Linked DNA regions of Homo sapiens: regions 1, 2, 3, 4 and 5 are each linked to region 6. Evidence: promoter capture Hi-C in human tissues and cell types (Jung and others, 2019). All regions are on one chromosome and are shown on one strand. The core of a region is centred on a gene start or on the middle of the fragment in contact, and the rest is flanking DNA. Distances in the headings are between cores, read along the strand shown.

The links. Contacts are between HindIII fragments. The study calls those that stand out against the background at their distance.
Region 1: a fragment that was not itself captured here is called in contact with the fragment with the promoter of SESN3 in region 6 in 1 of the 25 tissues and cell types used here (liver).
Region 2: a contact is called between a fragment that was not itself captured here and the fragment with the promoter of SESN3 in region 6, in 1 of the 25 tissues and cell types used here (heart right ventricle).
Region 3: a fragment that was not itself captured here is called in contact with the fragment with the promoter of SESN3 in region 6 in 2 of the 25 tissues and cell types used here (dorsolateral prefrontal cortex and hippocampus).
Region 4: a fragment that was not itself captured here is called in contact with the fragment with the promoter of SESN3 in region 6 in 1 of the 25 tissues and cell types used here (aorta).
Region 5: a contact is called between a fragment that was not itself captured here and the fragment with the promoter of SESN3 in region 6, in 3 of the 25 tissues and cell types used here (dorsolateral prefrontal cortex, hippocampus and lymphoblastoid cells).

The regions. Positions count from the first base shown.
Region 1 is chr11:95,731,687-95,735,516 of GRCh38, reverse strand. No RefSeq gene overlaps it. Among named protein-coding and RNA genes, the nearest start is that of FAM76B, 56 kb to the left of the region's middle. The HindIII fragment of the contact is 4,246 bases long and covers 1-3,604 here.
Region 2 is chr11:95,529,231-95,533,041 of GRCh38, reverse strand. No RefSeq gene overlaps it. Among named protein-coding and RNA genes, the nearest start is that of FAM76B, 260 kb to the left of the region's middle. The HindIII fragment of the contact is 5,707 bases long and covers 1-3,811 here.
Region 3 is chr11:95,694,098-95,697,778 of GRCh38, reverse strand. No RefSeq gene overlaps it. Among named protein-coding and RNA genes, the nearest start is that of FAM76B, 94 kb to the left of the region's middle. The HindIII fragment of the contact is 3,278 bases long and covers 100-3,377 here.
Region 4 is chr11:95,601,088-95,604,509 of GRCh38, reverse strand. No RefSeq gene overlaps it. Among named protein-coding and RNA genes, the nearest start is that of FAM76B, 190 kb to the left of the region's middle. The HindIII fragment of the contact is 3,589 bases long and covers 1-3,133 here.
Region 5 is chr11:95,711,430-95,714,958 of GRCh38, reverse strand. No RefSeq gene overlaps it. Among named protein-coding and RNA genes, the nearest start is that of FAM76B, 77 kb to the left of the region's middle. The HindIII fragment of the contact is 3,685 bases long and covers 1-3,382 here.
Region 6 is chr11:95,228,475-95,232,451 of GRCh38, reverse strand. It overlaps SESN3 (sestrin 3), which reads left to right and starts at 1,250. Exons shown (of 10, transcript NM_144665.4): 1 at 1,250-1,669. The coding sequence starts at 1,592. It overlaps LOC100129203 (a long non-coding RNA gene), which reads right to left and starts at 2,266. Exons shown (of 6, transcript NR_110295.2): 1 at 1,957-2,266; 2 at 879-1,327; 3 at 276-400. RefSeq lists enhancers at 1-231, 232-871 and silencers at 1,227-1,376, 1,387-1,696. The HindIII fragment of the contact is 13,238 bases long and covers 1-3,854 here.

The DNA.
Region 1 (3,830 bases), core at 232-2,731, 500 kb before region 6:
ATGTCTTAGAACCAAAACCCTGGGCACTCTCTACTGCCCATGAAGTTATCATAGCGCTTATGCAACAATGATCTAATTGTTAGTCTTGTCACAACATTGTGCCTAGTAAATTATAGACTTAAGAAGTAGACGAACACTTGAATTTAGGAGCACAATCTTTTTTTAGACTAAATTTTCTTTTTGTTAAAATAACTTTATGATGTCAAATAGAAGAAAAAGAAACTTTACCTCCCAATTATATTTACAGGTTTCATGTCTTTAAAAATACACAAATCATCAAGATTAGTATCAAGATAAGATCTGAACTATTACTGTTAGTGTTTTTTTTTTTTTTCTATGCTGCAACTGAAATAGCCAGAAATAACATGGAAACTTCTAACCTCCTTTCTCCACTTCACTACCACTAATCTCTGTGCCATAGGAGGGTGAGAGAATAGGATTGTGGTGGGATGGAATTAAACAAGACTCCCTTTTTCAAGCTTTGCTTGAATATTTATTTTAATAATGTTTACCATTAAGTAAATTAATCTTCTTTCTTTTTTCTTTCTTCTTTCTTTCTTTCTTTCTTTCTTTCTTTCTTTCTTTCTTTCTTTCTTTCTTTCCTTTCTCTCCTACCTTCCTTCCTCCCTTCCTGCCTTCTTCCCTCCCTTCCTCCCTTCTTCCCTTCCTCCCTCTTTCTTTCTTTCTCTTTCTCTCTTTTCCTTCCTTCCTTCCTTCCTTTCTACCTTCCTTCCTTCCCTCCTTCTTTCCTTCCTTCCTTTCTCTCTCTCTCTCTCTTTCTTTCTCTCTCTGAACCTAATAGAGCATAAGCCATTAACCTTTCCTTATGCTAATACATGTATTTTGAAATGTTCTGAAATAGCACCATACAGAGAATCATCTACTCTGATAGAAATTTTTGAACGTTTTTCAAATTCTGCTCTGTGTGTTTATTCTAGTTTGCCACAGTGCTGATTGCTGCCTCAGATCTATTCCTTGCTGTTCCCCTGCTTGAAGGGCTGATACCTGTAGGCTGTTTCCCAGGCTTATGTGTCAGTGGGCTTCAGACTGTGTGTGGCCAGTGGGAAGACCTGCAGCAGACTGAGCGGTGACAGAAATGAAGGTACCAGGGAATTTCTCTTTAATTATATATTTTTGGTGTTATCTCTGGCTAGGTTGTATATTTTCCATGGCACTAGCTCCTGTCTGACAGGCCTGCCTTGAAACTGGCTTCTGCTGAGTAACCCTGACACCTGGACTCTAGTAACTTTGCTGTCTCCCTTTATCTAGGCAGCCCAGGGAGAGGAGTGGTTCCCTGGTGTTGCTAAGGGTTTCCTCTCACCGTTTCATTTGGCTTCTCGGCTCCTTTATCATCTGTGGAACCAACTTCCTGTATTATGTATCCTCCGTTGTAAATACTTAAAGTAAATTGCATTTTCCTGGCTATACCCTGACCAAAACAGGCACTGATATAATCACTTTAAGACTGCTGAGACAAGCAGCACTGTTAAACTGTAATAAACATTGACTTACTTGATGAGAGAATTGGCTTAAACTCTGAATGAGTTCACATTTACTTTAGTGGACCAGTAGGAAAATGTATGGGCAGTGATTTTAACATGAATTCACTGTTATCTTTAAGGCAGAGCTATCGTGACTCCTTTTTTTTTTTTTTATTAATAAACTTATCTTTTTTTTAGAGTAGTTTCAAGGTCACAGCAAAACTGAGTGGAAAGAATAGTGAGTTCTCAAATAGCTCCTGCCCCCACACATGCCCATTACTTCTTTCTGATTTTCTCAAAGGAAGAAGACTTAATAAGTAAATAGCAATCCCAGTTTTGCCGTTCTATTAGTGAGGGCTTGTATTAGAGGGCAAAAGAAATGTAGCTTTCTAGAATTTTCTGCCAGATTATGTAGTAAATAATAGCTACTTCTATGTAGTAAATGCTTTGAAAAAAAAAAAAACAAAACCACAAGCCATGAATCTATTCAGCTGGAGGAATTCTGGAAACAGAGCATATGAACACCTTCAGGGTCTGAGGAAATGGAGGAGGGGTGGGGTTTGGGTTTGAGTGCTGCTTATGGGACACGGAAAGAAGCTTGAAACTCCCTTCATAATTGGGTGGTGTGTGTTTCGAGGAGGAGCAAGGGGAGACCAGATAGGCATATCTAGACACACTAAAGCAGAAGCCAAGCAGATTAACTTCTGATGGAAGAGATATTTTAGTAACTCCATGTCAAAATACAGAGGCTTTTTACATAAGAGAACACCTTGCATGTGCTAAAGAGGCACAGGTTGGAAAGCCCACAGATAGCACACTTGGGACAAGAGTGAGTGCTGAAATTCACTAGGAACAATTGGACACTAACTCTGGAGCTTTGGAGACCTGAGAAGTTCCACAGAGCAGCTATGACCTGGCATTCTGAGAGACACCCCAGACATTCATTGCCTCTTGGCCCCTCCCTCCCTCCCTCCTTCCCTCCTTCCCTCCTTCCCTCCCTCCCTCCCTTCCTTCCTTCCTTTCTTCCTTTTTTCCTTCTTTCCTTCCATTTAGCAATTATTTATGACTTTCTACTTAAGTGTCAGGCACTGTTCTAGGCAATGTTGACTTATTAATGCACAGCAGAGATTTTTTAAAAAAAGCTTTTTCCTTCATTCTGGTGGGAGAAAAAAATCAATAAATAATAATTCATTATTATATAGCATGCCAAAGGGTGAAAAGTGCTATGAGAAAATCTGGAAATAGTGAGAGTGCTAGGGTTGAGGTGGAGGATGGAGTTGGATTACATAGGGTAGAGCTCATTGAGAAGGTGACTTTTGGCAAAGACAAGAAAGCCAAGGAGTTATCCATGAGATACCTAGAGGAAGAACATTCCAGGTAAGGGGAACAGCAAATGCAAAGAGCAGAAGGCACAGTTTCTTTATAAAGTTAAACATGCATTTAGCCCGTGCCCAATAATCTCAATCCTTGGTATTTACCCAAGAGAAATAAAAACGTATGTCTACACGAAAACTTGTACACTATGTTCATAGCATCTTTGTTCATATTAGCCCCATGGGTAAATGAACTGTAATATATTCATACCATGGAATACTAGTCATTAATTGAAAGAAAAGAAAAACTATGAATACATACTATGACATGAACGAATCTCAAAAAGATTATGTTAAGTAAGAAAAAGCTAGACATAAAATAATATATACTATTTGATTACATTTGTATTAAGTCTAAAAACAGGCAAAGAGAATCTAGGGTAACAGAAATTAAAATTGTAGTTATGTATAAGGATGAATTGGAATTGACTGGAAAAGAACCTGAGGTGACAGAATATTGTTCTCTATCTTGAAATGGATGGTGGTTACATGGGCCTATAGAACTGTCAAAACTACAAACTTAGCACTTAAGATTTGCCCATTTTATGTGAATTATAGCTGAATTAAAAACAAACAAACAAACAAACATATGACTGTAGTGTTTGCTGAGGAAATCAGGGTACTTGATTGTACTTGATGTGGAGTGAGCAAGGAGGGATGTAGCATATGATGCAGCAAAAGATATAATAGGGAATGAAGTACATCATGTAAGGCATATGGGCTATCATAAGGCATAAATTGGTCTGACATGTGTTTTAATAAGATCACTCCGGTTGCTGTGTTGAGAAAGACTGTGAGCAGATCCATTGGAAGACCATTGGGATAATCTGGGCTAGAGCTAGTGATGTTTGACATGAGGGTGGCAGCAGTAGAGATGGCAGGAAGAGGATACAAGTCTGAATAGAATTGATGAAATTTGTAGAAAGATTGAACATGGGGATAAGAGAGGAAGAGAGGAAAAAAAAGTGACTTTAAA
Region 2 (3,811 bases), core at 968-3,467, 300 kb before region 6:
TCTGTCTAGCTAGGCTGTTCCTTTAGCTAGAAACGGCATGCTTTTCTTGGGGCTTTTGTTGTTGCTCACATTGGCATTTCCAGGCTGCTAGCTTCTTGGTTTCATGTCCAGGATATATGAGACAAAAAGAAAACCCAAGAAACTCGCCATGTTAGATCTCCAGTTTCAGGTCCCTAGCCAGTCTGCTATCTTTGCCCCACCTTTGAGCCTTCGCATGTTTATTTTATACATAATGTCCGGAGTTTTTGCTTGTATTTAACAGGAGGAATATAGAGAAGTATATATATCCACTCACTTGGTTTTATCCTTAGTATTTTCAGAGCTAATAATAACAATAACGACTGCTATGTTTTTAGTGCTGTTTACATGGCCAGTATCATGCTAATTTATTTACTTATGACAGTAATCTTATGAGGAAGGTACAATAATTACTAATGCCATTTGATACACGAAGAAACTGAAACTCAGAAATAATCCATGTAAACATTTAGAACAGTGCCTAGCACATATACTAATAAAGGCTAGGGAATATTATTGTTAATTATATTTTTAGCATTGTTAACTTGTCTGAAGGACCTAACTAATAACAACAGAGTTAGAATTCCACCCCAGTACAGTCTAAACTTGTAAACTGTAGGCAGTAATTTCTCTCAATTTGACTGAAACCACTGGGATTACTCAATTTCTACCGCATCTCGCATTATATCTTTACGCATCTCACTTATGTTACCACCACTGTTTTCTTTTCGGTTTTTTGTTTTGTTTTTGTTTGTTTGTTTGTTTGAGATGGAGCCTCACTCTGTCGCTCACGCTGGAGTGCAATGGCGCATTCTTGGCTCACTGCAACCTCTGCCTCCCAGGTTCAAGTGATTCTCCTGCCTCAGCCTTCCCAGTAGCTGGGATTACAGGCATGCACCACCACGCCTGGCTAATTTTTGTATTTTTAGTAGAGACAGGGTTTCACCATGTTGGCCAGACTGGTCTGGAACTCCTGACCTCAGGTGATCTGCCCGCCTTGACCTCCCAAAGTGCTGGGATTACAGGCATGAGCTAGCACACCCAGTTCTTTTCTTTATCTATAGTTTTCAAATTTCCTTCAATTTATAACCTGATAATAAAATAACTAATGTTTATGTAATATATATGGGAATGACAAAATGCTCTTACATTAATTACATTTAATATTTATTTCAAACTTCATTACAACTTCAGAGGCAGGTATTCTTAATTATAACACTATTTTAAAACTGAAATTCAGGGACAAGCCAAAAACCACATGGTTAGGAAGGGGTTGAGATATAACTCAAGCCCAGTGCTATTTCCACCATCCTGTGGTGCATCCGTAACCCACATCTCACTTTCATATCTTCCCTATAGCTCTCTGGGCTCATAACTTTCCTCTCTTTGGATCTCCTGGCAGAATATAAAGGACTTGAGGGAGAGAAGTTGGGGGGAGTTGGGGGAAGGTCCAGCAGATAAAATGGTGCCTCTAGAATTACAGATCCTTTCTAAGGGCTGTTGATCCATTAAAGATGTGTTGGAAATTCTGCCATATAATAGCACATTGCCTTAGTCCATCTGTGTTGCTATAAAAGAATACTTAAGAATGGGTAATTTATAAAGAAAAAAAAAGTTTGTTTGGCTTCTGGTTCTGCAGGCTGTACAAGCATGACACCAACATCTGGCTTTGATGAGAGTTTGAGGCTGCTTCCACTCATGGTGAAAGGGAAAATGGAGCCAGTATGTGGAAAGATCGCATTGCAAAAGAGGAAGCAAGAGAGAGGAGGAGGTGCCAGGCTCTTTTTAACAACTAGCTCCTGGGAGAACTAATAGAGTGATAATTCAGTCCTCTTTCCCCCTGGTGGGGAGTATTAATCTGTTCATGAGGTATGTATTCCCACGACCCAAACGCCTCCTCTTAAGCCTCATCTCCAACACTGGGGATCAAATTTTAACATGCGGTTTAGAGGGTCAAATATCCAAACTATAGCACACACCTTTCTCCTTTTGCTTGTGTCTTCCATGGAGTCATGTTTTGAGGTCTATTGAAGAATGGAGTGGTTGGGAGCATGGAGAAAGATAGGTGGCTTAGAAACAAATTAGACATGTAGGGGGTTGTTGCAACAGATTTCATTCAAGAGAGAGACTACAAAGGCAGAGACAGTTGAGATAAAGAACAGGGGAATAGAAGGATATTTAGAAGACATATTTGACCCAACAAACAGTGCTGTGTGTGTGTGTGTGTGTGTGTGTGTGTGTGTGTGTGTGTGTTTGTGTGTATTTGAAAGAGAAAGTTAGAAGAGGGGTCATTAATAACAGTGATGCTGCCAGGTTTCTGATTTGAAAAACCGGATAGGTCATTTTGTTTACAATCAAGGTTAAGGAAAAAAAAGTTTCAGGGAGGATGGAGTAGTGCATGGTAGAATGCTAAAGAGCAAACAAAAAAAAAAAGATTGTATCAGTGTAATTGGATTTGAAAATTAGAAGGTAATTAATGGCTTTGGAAAAATAGCTGTCACAGATAGAGAGAGAGGTGAGCGGAATAGTGGAGTGGGATGGCTAAGCTGATAAATTATTTGGAAATGAGAAGTAGAGAGACCATTTATGCAGTGACACTGTGGAAAAGTCATGGAATATGAAGAACCAATTCCAAAACCTGGTACTGCTTACTTGCTTGCTATGCGGCCTTTGGCAAATCACTTTACCCACTTGAGTCTGTTTCCTAGAAGATGAGCAACAGTTTGCTCTATTCCTTTTCCTGTGATTTATTTCCTCATTGTGTGTCAGTGGGTAAAACCATGGCTAAAATTGATGCTTTTTTTTTTGCTTTTTGAAATTGATTTCCCTGGCCCCCCACCACCACTCAAGCAACGGCATCTTCCAGTCTAAATCATCTGATATTTATTTGAGAATTGGTACAATGATGGCTAAATGTTGTAAAAATATATAAAACTACCATGGTTATACATGGAGAGACTGCACATCAGTAAAACCTTATTTCTAATCATCCCATGATTGACAGATTAAACTTGTCATTGAAAAAGTTAATGCACATAATTAGTAGATGTATATAAAACTGTAATGTATTTTCTTCTTTGGCACCTGTTAAAATGTTTTTAAAAAGCATTTGTGATTCCTTTAAAAGATATTAAATGAATAGAATGTCTTTCATCTTGCATTTTCTAAAATATTAAACTTTATTGAGTACTAACAATGTGAATATTATAAAATTATTTATTTTATATAAATAAAATGTACAGAAATACGGGATCAGCTCCCATTTAATTTCAGGTCAAGATACTAAGTAGGGACTATATTTGATATTTCTTCTATATCCCTTTTCAATTTAATTCAATAATAAAAATTACCAAAATTTATTTTTAATATTCACAAAAACCTTGGGAATAGACTTAATTGTCTCCATTTTACCAGGCAAGAAACCAAGCTTTAAAAAACAGCAAAACAAATTTAAATGTCCACTGCATGGAAGCACATGCATGCAGGTCAAATCAATATTGTAAAAATGACCATACTACCAAAAGCAATCTACAAATTCAATGCAATTCCCATCAAAATACCACCATCATTCTTCCAGAGCTAGAAAAACAATCCTAAAATTTATATGGAACCAAAAAAGAGCCCACATAGCCAAAGCAAGACTAAGCAAAAACAACGAATCTGGAGGCATCACATTACCTGACGTCAAACCATACTATAAGATCATAGTCACCCAAACAACATGGTACTGGTATAAAAATAGGCACATAGACCAATGGAACAGAATAAAGAACCCAGAAATAAAGCCAAATAC
Region 3 (3,681 bases), core at 489-2,988, 460 kb before region 6:
CAGAGGTCCTAGGAGTAACCCTCACGGCCATAGGCAGGCCCTGCAGCCTTCCTGTTCAACCTGATTTCTTTTTGCATGGAAGCTCAATCCTTCTCTCGGACAACTTTGCTTTCCCTGAACAAGCTGTACTTAAGTTTACCAGAGTCCCTTGACTCATGTTTTTTGCATTTCTTGAAATACACTTCTGTTTCTTCATAGCTGGATAATTCTTGCTTGCCCTTCAAAGTTCACCTCCAATGTTACTCCTGTGGGAAGCCTTTTCTAACTCCATCGTCTGAAAAAAAATGACCTTCTTAGTTCCTATAGCAGTGTGCATACTCAGTTGTAGTACAGAGGAGTCAAATTTGATAACCTACGATGCAGATGGGCCAGAGTATGTACTTTTCAAATTTTGGGTGGCTGATTTTATGTGGCTCTGGATTTTAAGGTAACTCTGTGTGTTTTGGATAAATAATCTGACACTTCAAATGTTCTAACTGCCCTCTCTAGGGAGTAGATAGAGTCTGGAAGCAAGGGAAGGTTTGCGTGAATTAATGGTATCCAGGAAGCAGGGGAGAGGTGGGCAATTTATGTGCTGTCCTTCTTTGCTTGCTTCTGGGGCTCTAGTTAAGCTCATCCCACCTGGTCTTTGGGAGTCAGCCTCTATTTACATTAAAGCTGCTACTGAGCAGCGTATGGCTGTTGTAACTCCACTCAGGTTGTATTCTTCCAGGATGGGTGAGGCATGATGATGGCTCTTGTGATATGATTACACACACACACACACACACACACACACACACACACACACACACACACACACACACAGGTTTTCATATACAGTTCCTAGCTCAGAAACCTCATAATCTTTGTTATATTCTTTTGTCACAATGTTGGGGTACTTTAGGCCTTAGGAACAGGCCTCAGAAAATGGAATCTCTCTCTCTGACCTTCTCCTGCCTTCTTTTCACCTGCCCAAGGCAGGACTCTCATCTGATTGTGGGTCATGAGAACCTCATTCCAGAGTGGGTTCTACCCCATACTCCGCAGGAAGGAATGCTGCACAGAGAGATCCAGAAAACCCTGAGCAGGCAGGCCTTGCTGGGTTTATTCAGGTCATATCCTTTCTGTACAGTCACATTGTGACACAGTTGTCCATGCTTCCAGACCTTCCCTATGTATCTCTTCATTTGGCTGTTTATTTGTATTCTTTAAAATATCCTTCATAACATACCAGTAAATATGTTTCTGTAAGTTCTATGAGCTGCTCTAATAAATAAATCAAACCCAAAGATAGGGTCATGGGAACCCCAACTTGAAGCTGATCGGTCAGGAGTTCTGGAGGCCTGGACTTGAGGCTGGTGGGAGAAGGGGGCAGACTTGTAGGACTGAGCCCTCCATATGTGATATCTGTTGCTGTTTCTGGGTACATAATGTTAGAACTGATTGGAGGATACCCGGGGAAAAACCCCCACACTTTGGTCACAGAAGTCTTCTTCTGTGTTGATGATTGTTGTTGTGGTATGAGGGCAGAGGAAAACATGGTTTGCGTGTTGCTCTGAAACAGTATCCAAAGTGTTTGGCCATCACCTCTTGTTGATCAGGCCCCACGCTGGCTCTCGCGGTGCTTCAGATTCCCAGTGACTCCATTCCATCCCCAGCTTGGCCCATCGTTGCCTTGAGTAAGTTCACCAGCCAGCACTCATGGTCCACATTCCCGGAGGCATTCAGGAGCTTCTGGACTCCTTCCACATCATATGAGCACCATGGGAGTCAGTTGTCCCATAGCAGGCCTGTCTCTGTGGACACTTCCCTTTGTTGTTCTACCACTCCAAGGCCAGCTTGGATAGCCTAGGAAAGCAGGGCACTAGCATGGAAAAAATGCTTGTGGGTTCTGTCTCAATGTGCCTGGAGTTTTGTGGCAATTTCTGCTGCTGCAAAACCCTCCAGTCTCTATATACCTGGCCCCTGTGCTGGGGATAAACTCAGGGACTCATGATCATCTTCTCCCTTGTCTAGTCTTCTGTAGCTCTCCCTGTCTGATTTCTATCCCTCAAGTCAGAGGTCCTTTCCACTTTATTTTTACTCCTTGGATAGATGGCAACTTCCCTTAAATCATAATCCTTAAATTTCTCTAAAGAAAAATTTTTGTCTTTATTATCTAAGCTTTACTTGAAACTCAGACAATTTGGAGGTTTATCTTTACTATCTAAGGTTCACTTAGACAGTAAAGATAAGAGCTTTACAACATAGTAATATAATATAATATAATATAAGCTTTACTATCTAAAGGTTATAGTAAAATCATATGTTTCAAATTTCAAGTTTTGCTCCTGATATGGAAAGAGAAGTTGTTTACCTTTAGAAGTACCTTGATTTCTGAGAAAACCCTGGTTTTCATGACCACAGCTTTGCCATGGGCCTCATGATTCTCTGTTGCAAATCAAATGCTGAATGGTGGCCTTTTCTTTGCATTCTAGTTAAAACAAAATCTTCCTAGAGGTAACAGTGTATCTGGTTTAGTAGAGCACAGCCTTATGCAAGGAAGAGTGAAGAAAATCATTAATAAATTAAAAAATATTATCCACTGCCATAAAAACTCTTAAACTTTTATTGTAACCACAGGTTCACTGGACTGTCATTCCTTCTTAACTGAAAGTCTTCCAGGGGACTCTCTCTTACTCAACTTTGTGTCCTAATATAAGAAAAACAAAAGCAAGGTTTAGGGCCACCTTCTATCCTCTTCTGGTCCAATGGAGAAGACAAGAGAGGATCTCAAAGGCAGGGAACAGCACATACAAGGTAGAGAGGATAGATGAGCATTATTCTGGAAGCTTCTGAGTTCTTAAACAATTGAGTTCTACAGTGATTGATCAGGCAAGAATTTCCAGTCCTGCAAGTGGATATCCATAAAGGCAAGGACTAGATGTATGCTTTGTTGCTTCAGGCTGCTAAGAAGAGAAAACCATACAGCTCTCATTTTTATGGAGCTGGCTAGGAATAGTGCTGGCCCTTATGAATAATACCATACGTTCAAGGATTGGGATGTCCATGTGTAAGTAATAATAATAGTACAACAGCTATCAATTACTGAGCTCAGTACTATGTGCCAAGGGCTCTTCAGAAAGCTTCACATATATTAACTCATTTAATCCTTACCACAGTGCTATAAAATAGCTTCTGTTATTAACTTCATTTTACAGAGATGGAGCTAGAGGTGCACAGAGATGAGCTGATTTTTCTAAGGTCACACAACTAGAAATTAGCAGAGCTACAATGTAAACACAGGGAGGGTAACTTCAGGGCCACTATTCTGTATCTCTAACCCAACAATCCTGCGGAGACAATTCAAACATATTAGTTGTGCCTAAATTCAAAGTATTGCATTATAATAAAGCTATAAATCTATTTTCTATTTCAGGCTTATAGTCCTCAGCGAATTGCAGAAAGAATCTGGTGAACAAAAGAAGAACAACCTTGTTTCAAGTAGCAGATGTGCAAGGAGGGTCCACAAGGAAATTTCCCAAAAGGAAAATAGGTTCATACACAGATCATAGAAAATTCACTTTTATAATCCAAATAGTTTTCTAACTTTATTTCAAGTAAAATTTTTTTCCCCAAATAACATATTCCAAAGCAGTAAGATAGATCAAAGTGATGCTACAAAGCTTGAAATGGGGATGAGAGCTCAGAGTCTTAAAT
Region 4 (3,422 bases), core at 90-2,589, 370 kb before region 6:
TGATTGTTATAATTTAGCAGTAATTGTGACTTGCTTCAGTGTGTGCAACGAGCTGAGTGTTTTCAGAGAACATTACCAATATTCAAAAAGAATTAGCTATTATTTTTCAGTGCCTCCTTTGGGTGAAGAAACTAATACACATTAGTTCTAAATCTCCTGCTAATCTTGAAAGTGAGAATCATTTTCTTTATTTACTAATCTAGGAAAGAGACTAAAAAAAGTAAGCAATAAGTAAGTCATGAGGGCTCATCTTAAGCATATGTCACTTGTGCTGTATGGATTTTATGAAATTACTGACACTTTCATATTTCACTTCTCAACAAACGCCACATTCTCTATTTCATTGGTCCTTCAATTATCCATAGTTTTAGGACGATTACTTGAGCCCAGGAGCTTGAGGTTGCAATCTGCAGTGAGCTGTGATCCATGCCACTGCACTTTAGCCTGGGCAATGGAGTGAGACCATGTGTCAGAAAAAAAAAATGTCAAAATTGGTAAGTTAATACATAGCAGAATCAAAATGTAGAAGTTTTAGAAGAAAGGGATGACAAGTTTACATTAAAAACATTTTTAGATGAAAAACATAAAAACTTAAAAAAGAAAAAAAAACTGTAATTTTTATCACAAAGTGATACTCTCCTGATGTGTAAATTTCTCTTTCCCTTAAGGAAAGCTAAAAATCCTCATAAAGAATCAAATTTATGAATAAATAGTTCAAAAATAACTATAAATGATTTCTAAGCATATGAAAGTATGCTAAACTTTTCAGATAGTAGGAGAAATATAAATTAAACCCAAGATAACACTTTGACAATTGACCATTATCAAAAAATGTGATAACAATCTGTAGACAAGATTGTAGAGAAAAAATTGTTCTAATATTTCTAATGGAATTGTAATTGATATAACCTCAGTGGATGACAATTTGACAGCAATTATTAAATATAAAATGCACATGATATTTGACACAAATTCTATTTTCAAAAATATATCCTACTGATATATTTGAATATATGTGCAGTAATATATACATAAGAATATTGATTGCAATGTGTTTTTGTGAGAGCAAAAGATGGAAACGAACTAGTCATAGAGTTTGTTTAACTAGTCGAACTAGACTAAATGTTTAGTTCATTTCCAAACTTTTGCTCTAGATTTTGTACATCTGCATTTATTTTCTATTAGAAATATACAGTTTTTTTTTTTAAAAGAAGAATTTGGTGGAAGTAAAAATGCAGCCATTTAAGCATATTGCTTAGAAATGTGAGGGTCAATACCAGGTTTAAAAAAAGCTGGAAAAGGTGAAAGTGATTGCCTCTTGAAGGTGAAGAGGGCTAGAGCTCTTTTTTATTATGTTTATTGTGTTTATTATGAATTATTTTATTATTATGCTATCTTTTATTATGTCTTTGAGTATTTTTAAAATTTTGCTCTTATGTGCAGATATTAGTTTGATAAAAATACCAATTAATTTGAAGGAATTCCCAAGGTCAAAATGTTTTACCATCCTTACTTTATTCCTTCCTTCCTAGCCCCACATCATACTTCTCTGTAATGTATATGCTTATTCCCCCCACCCATCCCTCCAAAAAAGACAACTGGGTTTTGTGATTTGATTTTATCAGTCCCTCTTTATTCTGTATAAATGTAATTTATTTGTTCAGAATATGAATGCTTCTATCAGTGTTTACAAAATCAATGTGGAACACCCTCAAGCTTAAACTCACCTTTTAGAAGCTGCATTGTCATCAGGATAGTGTTATTCTTAGCAAAGACCCATCTTTCCCTAAAAAAGACCTCAGAGATTATCTGATTATCTGAACATACCTTGTATCTTATTACCAAAGCTTCTTCTCCAGATACAAAAATGTTGTTCTTGTAAGAATATTATTTCCAAAATAAGGTTTATCTTGTAAAGAAGACCTCCTTTGCTCCACTCAATATTCATTGAGAAGGTAATGTGAGGACCTCATCCTCAAATCTCCTTAAAGAAGGGAAATATTTGTGGTTATTGTTGACTAAAGACTGTAGGAGAATTCACATTGTTCAGAAGCTGTTTTGATCCTTAAAAATGTAGTGGATATCCATAATAATGATACGCTGAAAATAATACTTTATTATTTGTTTTTACTCTACAAACATTTGATAAGTTATGTGCTGACTGTTGATATGGTCTGAATGTTTGTGTCCCACCAAAATTTATACGTTGAAATCCTAACCCTCATGATAGTAGTATTAGGAGGTGGGAGCTTTGGGAGGTTGTTAGGTCATGGAGGCAAAGCCCTCATGAACGGCGTGAGTGTCTTTATGAAAGAGCCAGAATGAGACCCTTCACTATCTCCACCATGTGAGGACACAGCAAGAAATAGGCAGTCAAATCTGGAAGACAACCCTCATCAGAACTCAACCTCATTGGCACCCTGATTTCAGACTTCTAGCATCCAGAACTGTGAGAAATAAATTCCTGTTGTTTCTAAGCCACATAGTTGATGGTATTTTGTTAAAGCAGCCCAAATGGACCAAGACAGGTGCCCTCTCTGTGCCAGGTAAACTGGGATATAATTTGAATAAAGGATATAATCTCTTAATAAATCAATCAATATTTAGAGACTATGTCTGCTAAGAGGAATAAAAAAACAAGGAAGGAAGAAAAAAAGAAAGGAAAGAAGGAAGGAAAACATATGAATTTATTGCCTACTATGTACAGGGAGCTCATGTGCTTTTCTACATTATCTCCCGAATGCTCTCACAATAAGCCTGGAAAGTCTATTATAAAGTTTAATATATAAACAGATATGCTAGAGGAACATACCACACACACACACACACACACACACACACACACAAGCACACACCACACACACATATACATACACTCTTCCAAGTTAATTGAAAAAAGTATACAAAAGCAAATATATCTATATATATGTCTACACAACACCACACACATTCACATATACACACATACATATATTTTACAAGTTAATGGAAAGAGCATATGTGTATATATGTAAATATATATTAACTTGAAAGAGTGTGTGTGTGTGTGTGTGTGTGTATTAAAATATAGTATTTAGTGTACAATGAATAGGGCAGACAGAAATTCAGGAGAAAGCTCATTAATTAGAGAATAGAAAGAGATAACATACTAATGTTTTTGAGTAGCAGGAACTTCACGTATTTTATCTTATTCTACTTTCTAAGTAACTCTGCGAGGGAGGTATTATTATTCTCATTTAGAAAAGTTGAAACACAGGTAGTTAATGATCACCTAGGAATTTAAATTCATACCTGTGTGATTCTAAAACACTTTTTCATCCTACTTCAGCAAATGTCAAGACTTAAGGGTGCCCTTAAGGATGGTTGAATGTAAGTACTATTTAATATTTTCAGATCGTATTTAGCATCACTTAGGAAGTTTA
Region 5 (3,529 bases), core at 291-2,790, 480 kb before region 6:
CAAAACTGGTAGTTTTGCACTTGGATATTTATGATGAGTATTTAATTTGTTCTTTCAGGTCTCCAGAGAAGGAAGTTCTTTGGGCAAAATTTTTGAGTTTAAGAATTATTTCTTAATGATAATCTGATTTTTCAAAGCTTTCAGGTATTCTCAGCAAACTAGCGCAGGAACAGAAAACCAAACACTGCATCTTCTCACTCATAAGTGAGAGTTGAAAAACGAGAACACATGGACACTGAGAGGGGAACATCACACACTGGGGCTGTCAGGCAGTAGTGGGCAAGGGAACGGAGAGCATTAGAACAAATACCTAATGCATACGGGGCTTAAAACCTAGATGATGCGTTGACAGGTGCAGCAAACCACCATGGCACATGTATACCTATGTAACAAACCTGCACATTCTGCACATGTATCCCAGAACTTAGAGTAAAAAAAAAGTTTTTTGAGAAGAGATATCAGAAATATTGTCATATTTTCTTGATTAGAGTCGAGATAAAAAGAAGTAAATGTTGAGTGTCTGCTCCCTTTGGTATTATCTTATGGACAGCATAGGACCAGGATTGAATCCTGATGACCACACTGGAAGAAGAAGTGGAAAATGAGGTGAAGGAGCCCAATTCTAGAACAGTTCAATTTCATTTGTTATTCTGGTGATTAATGTCTTCAGCTTTATACCTGGAGTGTTTCCAAAGCTTTTCACTAGATGCTCACCTTGACTCTGCCCAATATTCTCAACCTCAGCTAAATAAAACTAGTTTTTGACACCTAAAGAAATGGAACTTGTAAAACGTGGACATAATTCTACTTAAAGAGACAATGATAAACCCATACTTACATTCATTTAACTGTATTGATTTTTTTCTCAGAATTTAAGTGGGTTGAGGCAAAGAGGTATGTGACAGGGAGGAAGGGGAAAATCTTCTGGGGCACTTATATGCTTTTTAGAGTTTCTTTCTATACCTAACTCTTCTCTGGGGTGCTGAGGGTTCCAAAATAAATATTAATTACATCACAAAATTCTAAGAAGATGAATTTTTTTTGTCAGGTTCACCAATGGTCACTTTGGATTCCCAAAGAACACAGTAAACTTTAATTAGGTGATTAAACCATTAGGTGAAAAAGGAGTATTTCAGTATTAGAATAATCTTCTCATCTGATTCCCCAATCAACAAGCCATATGGAATCAACATACCAATATTGACTCTAATACATATTAGTCAGAATATAAAGTTGAAAGAGGTAAATAAGACTACCTCCCTAGGTGTGTATGTGGACTTACAGAACCTAGTTATATGGTGGTATTATACAATGGAATTACGTCACATTTATTCATTTTTGATGGGCAGGTGGCATTCCTTAGGCTTTTGAGTAGACTACATTGTAATGTGGGAAAATCGTTTGTCTAACTTCATTAATTGACAGCACTAATGAGAATACAATTCAGGTTGGTTGGTACAGTTTCACAGTTTTGCTCTATTAATGCTGGAATCATATCTTTATATTTGGCAGTTTTACTCCGAGCCAATGACATCAGCAAAAAGTTCATCCTAAAAGAAATTTCCATGTTGAATCAAATAACTGTAAGAATGTTATTTCTTCTTAACTTCCTAAATTTTGTGCCAATGATTCCATTGGATATAGAGGAAAGAGTCTTTCCTTTGAGAGCTTTCTTTCTACAAACATTAAAAACATACAGTCCAGGAAATCCTTTTAGTACAAACCAGTGGAAGGTGATATAAATGAAAATAAGGGGAAATAAAATAAAAACAGTGGGTGGAATCTGACATATTTGTTTGCTAAAATAACATAGATAGTTATGAATGGCACAATATTATTCAAATTTTACAAACATTTAATATCTTTATCACATAAATCATCTTATTTAATGTTTAAACTTGGGAATTAGCTCTTATTGTCCCCCCTTTCCTTGAAGATGAGGAAATGGAGCAGAGAGGTTAAGTAACTGTCTGAAACAAAGAGCTAGTATGGGTGAGAACCCAAATTCAATTCCAGTTCCATCAGACTGTAGTCCAGTGGTTTTTCCTATTTTGCTGATGGTTCTAACATTTTTTCCTCACTCAGTGCACCTGATAATTTGTGTCTGTCAGCAGCACTGTGCCTCTGGAGGGGTGGGAAGGTGGGAGGTTTCCCTTAAGGGCCCATCAGCATCTATGGATGGGTGGGTATGTGTAGTTTGGGAAAGATGCCAGGGACAATTCCATTTTCCCACCACCCACTTTGGATTCCCAAAGAACACAGTAAACTTTAGTTAGGTGATTAAGTCATAGGTGAAAAAGGAGTATTTCAGTATTAGAATAATCTTCTCATCTGATCCCTAATCAACAAGTCATATGGAATCAACATACCAATATTGACTCTAATACGTATTAGTCAGAACATAAAAGTTGAAAGAGGTAAATAAGACTACCTCCCTAGGTGTGTGTGTGGACTTATAGAACCTAGTTATATGGTGGTATTATACAATGGAATTGTATAATTGACATTCTTTGCATTATCCCACACTCTACCATTTTGGTTTGATTTTATTCTATTGACTTTAGCACAGAACTTCTCCCAGCTTTCCTGTTTAATATCTCTGTGTTATGTGTTTTTGCACACATTTATCAAGCAATTAGTTTCATGGAATATTTCTCAGTCGGCACATTTCCTTTGTTCAGAAGTATATCTCAGAATATATGGGGCAAGAAACTCTTACCACAGAGTTATATTAAGCTTTAATTAGGATAAAACATCAATTCGGGCGTTACTATGTGAAGCTGGAAATCTCTCTGTCACATCTCTGTATTTCTCCTCTTGTGAGCGTCCTTGACCTTGCTTGCCTGTAATGGCTTAATATTACAGGAACCATTTTGCTTGGGCTCATTCTGATACCCATGACTCAACTGCTCCCTAATATGCTTCAGGAGGAGGATTTAATCACTTTCACTACCTCCTACCCACAGGTCTTTTTGTCTTCTAGCCACAGTTATCTCTAGTCTCCCTTGAGGGTCTCTACCCAGCCATTTTCAGCATCCACCACAACTCTACCCCTTTGCCTGTGATACTCTGGTGTCCCAGCCAAGTGACATGCACACTTAATATTCTGTTGTGCTTTATACAGGTTGCCTTAGTTTTCCTTCATGGTCCCTTCTAAGTCATAACTCGTTTTTTCTCAGTAACAAAATGAGCTGGTGAGTTTTGTGATTTTGAATCAGGCATGAGAAATACACAATATTAGGCTATTAGGACCATGGAGCTTACTGAACTTAAGTGCCCTTAGCCCTCTGGAAATAATAAGTATGCTGAATTATATACCTTTACGTCCAGTCTTTATGTGCCACATTGCTGCTAAAAGGGACATTTCTGCTTTCTCTGTGTTGGTGGTTTCAGTATCAATATTCTTTCAAACTCATTGGCCAATTTGGATTTTACAGAGAGCACAGACTTTTCAGGTTTTAGCTAAGGAAAAGGAGCTGTTACTTTTCACAGAAAAGCTGCTGTCTGTTGGAAGCCAAACCATGAGCGG
Region 6 (3,977 bases), core at 1-2,500:
TAGGCGATGCAAGTTATCTCTGGGGCCCGGAGGACACGAGTGAGGACCGGGCACCAATCAGGTTCTCGCTCTGCGCCGGCCTTTGTTCTCACTCGGGAGCAGGTTGCGGGCGTCTAGCATCGGGAACCCGCATTCGACTCGGACGCGCATTGCTAGCCCCTTCGGGAGACCTGGCTCCCCTACCCGTCTGTCCCGCCACACTCGGTCAGCCTGCGCTTTCCCCAGTCAAGTCTGCCTTCTCTCCGCAGAACGTGGACGCTAAAACCCTGACTTACCATTTTAAGCTTTAGAAGAGGTAGGTTTGTCCCAATAGTTTTAAACGACAATTTGTTCTCTGAACCTTCCTTTCTGAGCAGGGCGCTGTGCTCTGCATGTATCCGAACAGCTGCCTCAGGAAGGTCTTTTGGGTGAGAAAACAAGCCCCTTTGGCCTTTTAGTGCTGGACAAGTAAATGAACTTACATCTCTAAGATAACTGCTAGAAGGTGCTTCACAAACAAGAGGAAACCGCTAAACCAGAGGTTTTGTGTCTCTCCCCTCAAACTCGATTACTTGCGTAAATATATATATAACTCAGACATTTATCCCCTATCCGCCTCCCAAGCCTCAAGTAACTGAAATCTTTGCAAAACAAGGTTCACAATAAATGATGCGTAAAGTTCTTTGAGATCCCTGGATACAAAGTACTACATAACTGCAGTCTTCTTTACAGCTAAAGTTAGATTTTGGTGGAGAGAAAGCCTAACCACTGCCCTGAAGGAAGGAACATTTAATCCTCCCACTCCCCTCCCCCTTTCTCGAGAGATCAGGAAATATTTAGCTCAATCTTAGACTCTCTAGCGAGCTCTAGCTCCCAACTATTTATCTCATTCTCCTCACCACTTCTGCAGGGACCTAGAGAAGGGGGCGTAGCTTATCTTGGGGGTGGGGCTTGGAGGGCAGTATATTTGCATATGACACACCCTCGTCCTCTTATTGGCAGAGGAGAGCAAACTGTTCCCTGCTACCCTACTACTTAGCTAACCGCCACCTCCCTTCAGTTCCGAGCCTCGGAGATAAACTTAACTTGCCCGGAGATTCAAGGCTTCCTCGGCCCCTGCGATTGGCCGGCGCGACTCCCAGTCGGGCTCTCGTTGCTCATTGGCTGCGGGCTAGCGCCCTGGGGGCGTAGCCGGAGCTGTCCGATTGGCGGGAGGGGCGGTACCGGAGCGTGGAGGTGGTGAAGGTGGTGGGGCGGCGGAGGCGGGGCCGCACTGAGGCGCTGCGGCGGCGGTGGTGGCGGTGGCAGCGGTGGCGGCTGCTCGTCCTAGCCTGGCGGGGGCGGGGGTCTGGAAGATGGGGGCGGGTGGAACAACGGGCCGGTGAGGAGCAGCCGCCGCCGTCTCCGCCGTCGCTGGGGCAGCTGCCGCGGTGGTCGCCTCTGGCAGTGCCGCTAGCTTTCAGGCAGTCGCCTCTCCTCCCGACATCCCGCCTTGAGGAGGCTGAGGCGGAATCGCGGCTGGCGGCGGGGGGACGGACCGGCCCTGCAGTGGCCGCAGTGACAGCCCGGACCCGGCCCTCCGCCCGCTCTCGCCTCGGCGCCCGCAGCCACGATGAACCGGGGCGGCGGCAGCCCGTCGGCCGCCGCCAACTACCTGCTCTGTACCAACTGCCGGAAAGTGCTGCGGAAGGTACGGGTTCGGCCCGGGGTCCTGCCGGCGAGGGTCGCTTCCTGCCGGCCGGGGCTCGGGCGGCTCGTCCCCGGGCGCGCACTGGGGGAGGCTGAGAGGGATCCCCGGGCACCGTCCCTCCGCAGGGACTGAGAAAGGGGGCGTGGGTTGAGGGCAGGAGGGTTTGGACTACTGCGGCTTTTTATTTCCGCCGGGACAGACCCAAGTCTGGAGGGGTTGGGATATTTTTTCTTCCCTTGTTCCTTTTATTTGGTGCCTTTGCTCTCCTTTACGGCTCATTTCCCTACCTTGCTACCCCGGGTCGGCTCCTTGGGCGGAGGGCGGGAGGGATCCGTTCGATCCTCCTCCCTGTGCAGTTTAGCTGTTGATGGAGGTCGGTGTGAAATCAGAGCAGCTGGGTCGGATCCCGAGGAACCTGGCCCCTCTTTGCTGTGGCTAACTCTTGCGAGTGTTGTTTTTGTTTATTCGGTTGCTTCTGCCTTGCGCGCCTTGCTCAACAACCCCCGTTTTCAAATTGTTTGGATGGTAGTCCTGTGTCTGTAGTTCAGTCTCGAAAGGAACCAGTAAAGCATCTTGAACTTTATGCCCATGGGAAATGCAATTCGACCTGGCCAGTTCCTGAGGCTGGGGTTGGGGGAGGAGAAGACTGAGGTGGATGTGGGTTATTCCTCCTTAGCACCCCCCTGCCCCCGTGTTGATCCAGAAAAATGAGGCGCACCATCAGTTTATTGCTGCTTCCTAGAGTGACTGATAGAAAGTTTACTCCAGTATTGTTTAGCTTACTTGGCTTAATCGCCCCGCGGGGAAGGGCGAGAGGGATGGGGAAGGGAATGAAAAAAAGGTCTCTAGACTTTTTGATCAGATTTTAACAGCTGCCCCAAAGTAATATTATAATCAGTTTATTCGTATTCAAACTCTATTTTTACATTTTATTAAGTGGAAACGTTAGGTGAGATGCTTCTGTTTGTTCACTACAAATGAATTAAAATTGCTGAGCTGTGCAAATGCATCGGGACTGAAAGCGGAGATGAATATGGTACCGTTTTTAGTCAACATCTCTAAATACGGTTCACTTTGGGATTGTTCTTTCTACATTTTTTTTTAAAAAAGGAAGAAAGAAAAAAGCACATAAGTAAGCAAGCTCAAATATTTGCGCTCTTTGTCCAAAAACTGTTTTTCTTCCTCTGTGGGTCAGGCCAAGTGCCAATCAAAGTTGTTTTTCAAGCCTCTTTTCCCTGCAGTAGGGCTGCTGCTTTTTTTTTTCTTCCTATTTTATTTGAGAGCGTGAGAGCAAAGGGATTGCAGATTTGAGGTTAATTGAACAGTTAAATATGCCTTAAATTGTGTTTATTGGATATGTTTCTCTTGAAACAGATTTTTATTAAATGTGCATGTTGAGTATGTGCAGTTATTTTTTTCCATAAACTCTAGGATCAAATTACAGTTGATACTTGCTCAGCTCATTGTAGGGTAGCTTGTGAGAAATGTAATGGATCAGAAGTGCAGATCAGCTTAGTTGGATGTTAACTCTTTCACTGCAGGGCCAGATGTCATCTGAACTTAGCTTTCAAAAAAATTTATTTCTTAATTTTTAAATTTATGTTATGTCTTTGACATGAAAAAATGTGTCATTTAAGACATGTTTGATTAAAGTGCAGCCTGGTTAAAATGACAGCAAGTTATGCTTTTTAATTGAATAAGGAAAAAGAGCACTGTATTGACTTTGATAAAAAAATTTTTTAATGGCTCTGGCAATTTGTTAGGCTAATAAAATGTTTGGAGGTAATATTAGGCTTCAAAATGTATTTCATTTTTCTTTTGAGAGAGCTATGGCTATGGATCCATGACACTTTGCTAGCATTTAAGATATTACATCTTTCCTTTAGCTTTTAGGAAACTATTTCTGTTTACCTAGAAAGAACATCCTCATTTCTAGCCATTATTAAAAGAAACGTGGAAAAAGAGTATTCACATTTTCGTATTTTATAATTGCTGAGCACATCTCTGCCAGTATTCCAGTTTTTAGTAACTCCAAGGTATTTAATATTGATTCATGCAGTGGCATGAAATAACTTAATGGAAATAGGATTCTTTGAGCCAGTTATAACATGACTTGGCAACATTTGCAGCTTTTTAAAGAGTGCCACTTTGAAGTGCTCTTAAGAGAATCAGTATGTAGCATTTTAAATGTTTCATCATTCTTAAAATAACAATGAAAAGTTTATTTCTAATAAAGACATGTTTTTCTTGTTGATATAACTCTAAGTTAAAAGTCATCTATAACTCTCAAAATGTGATTCTTAGAGTT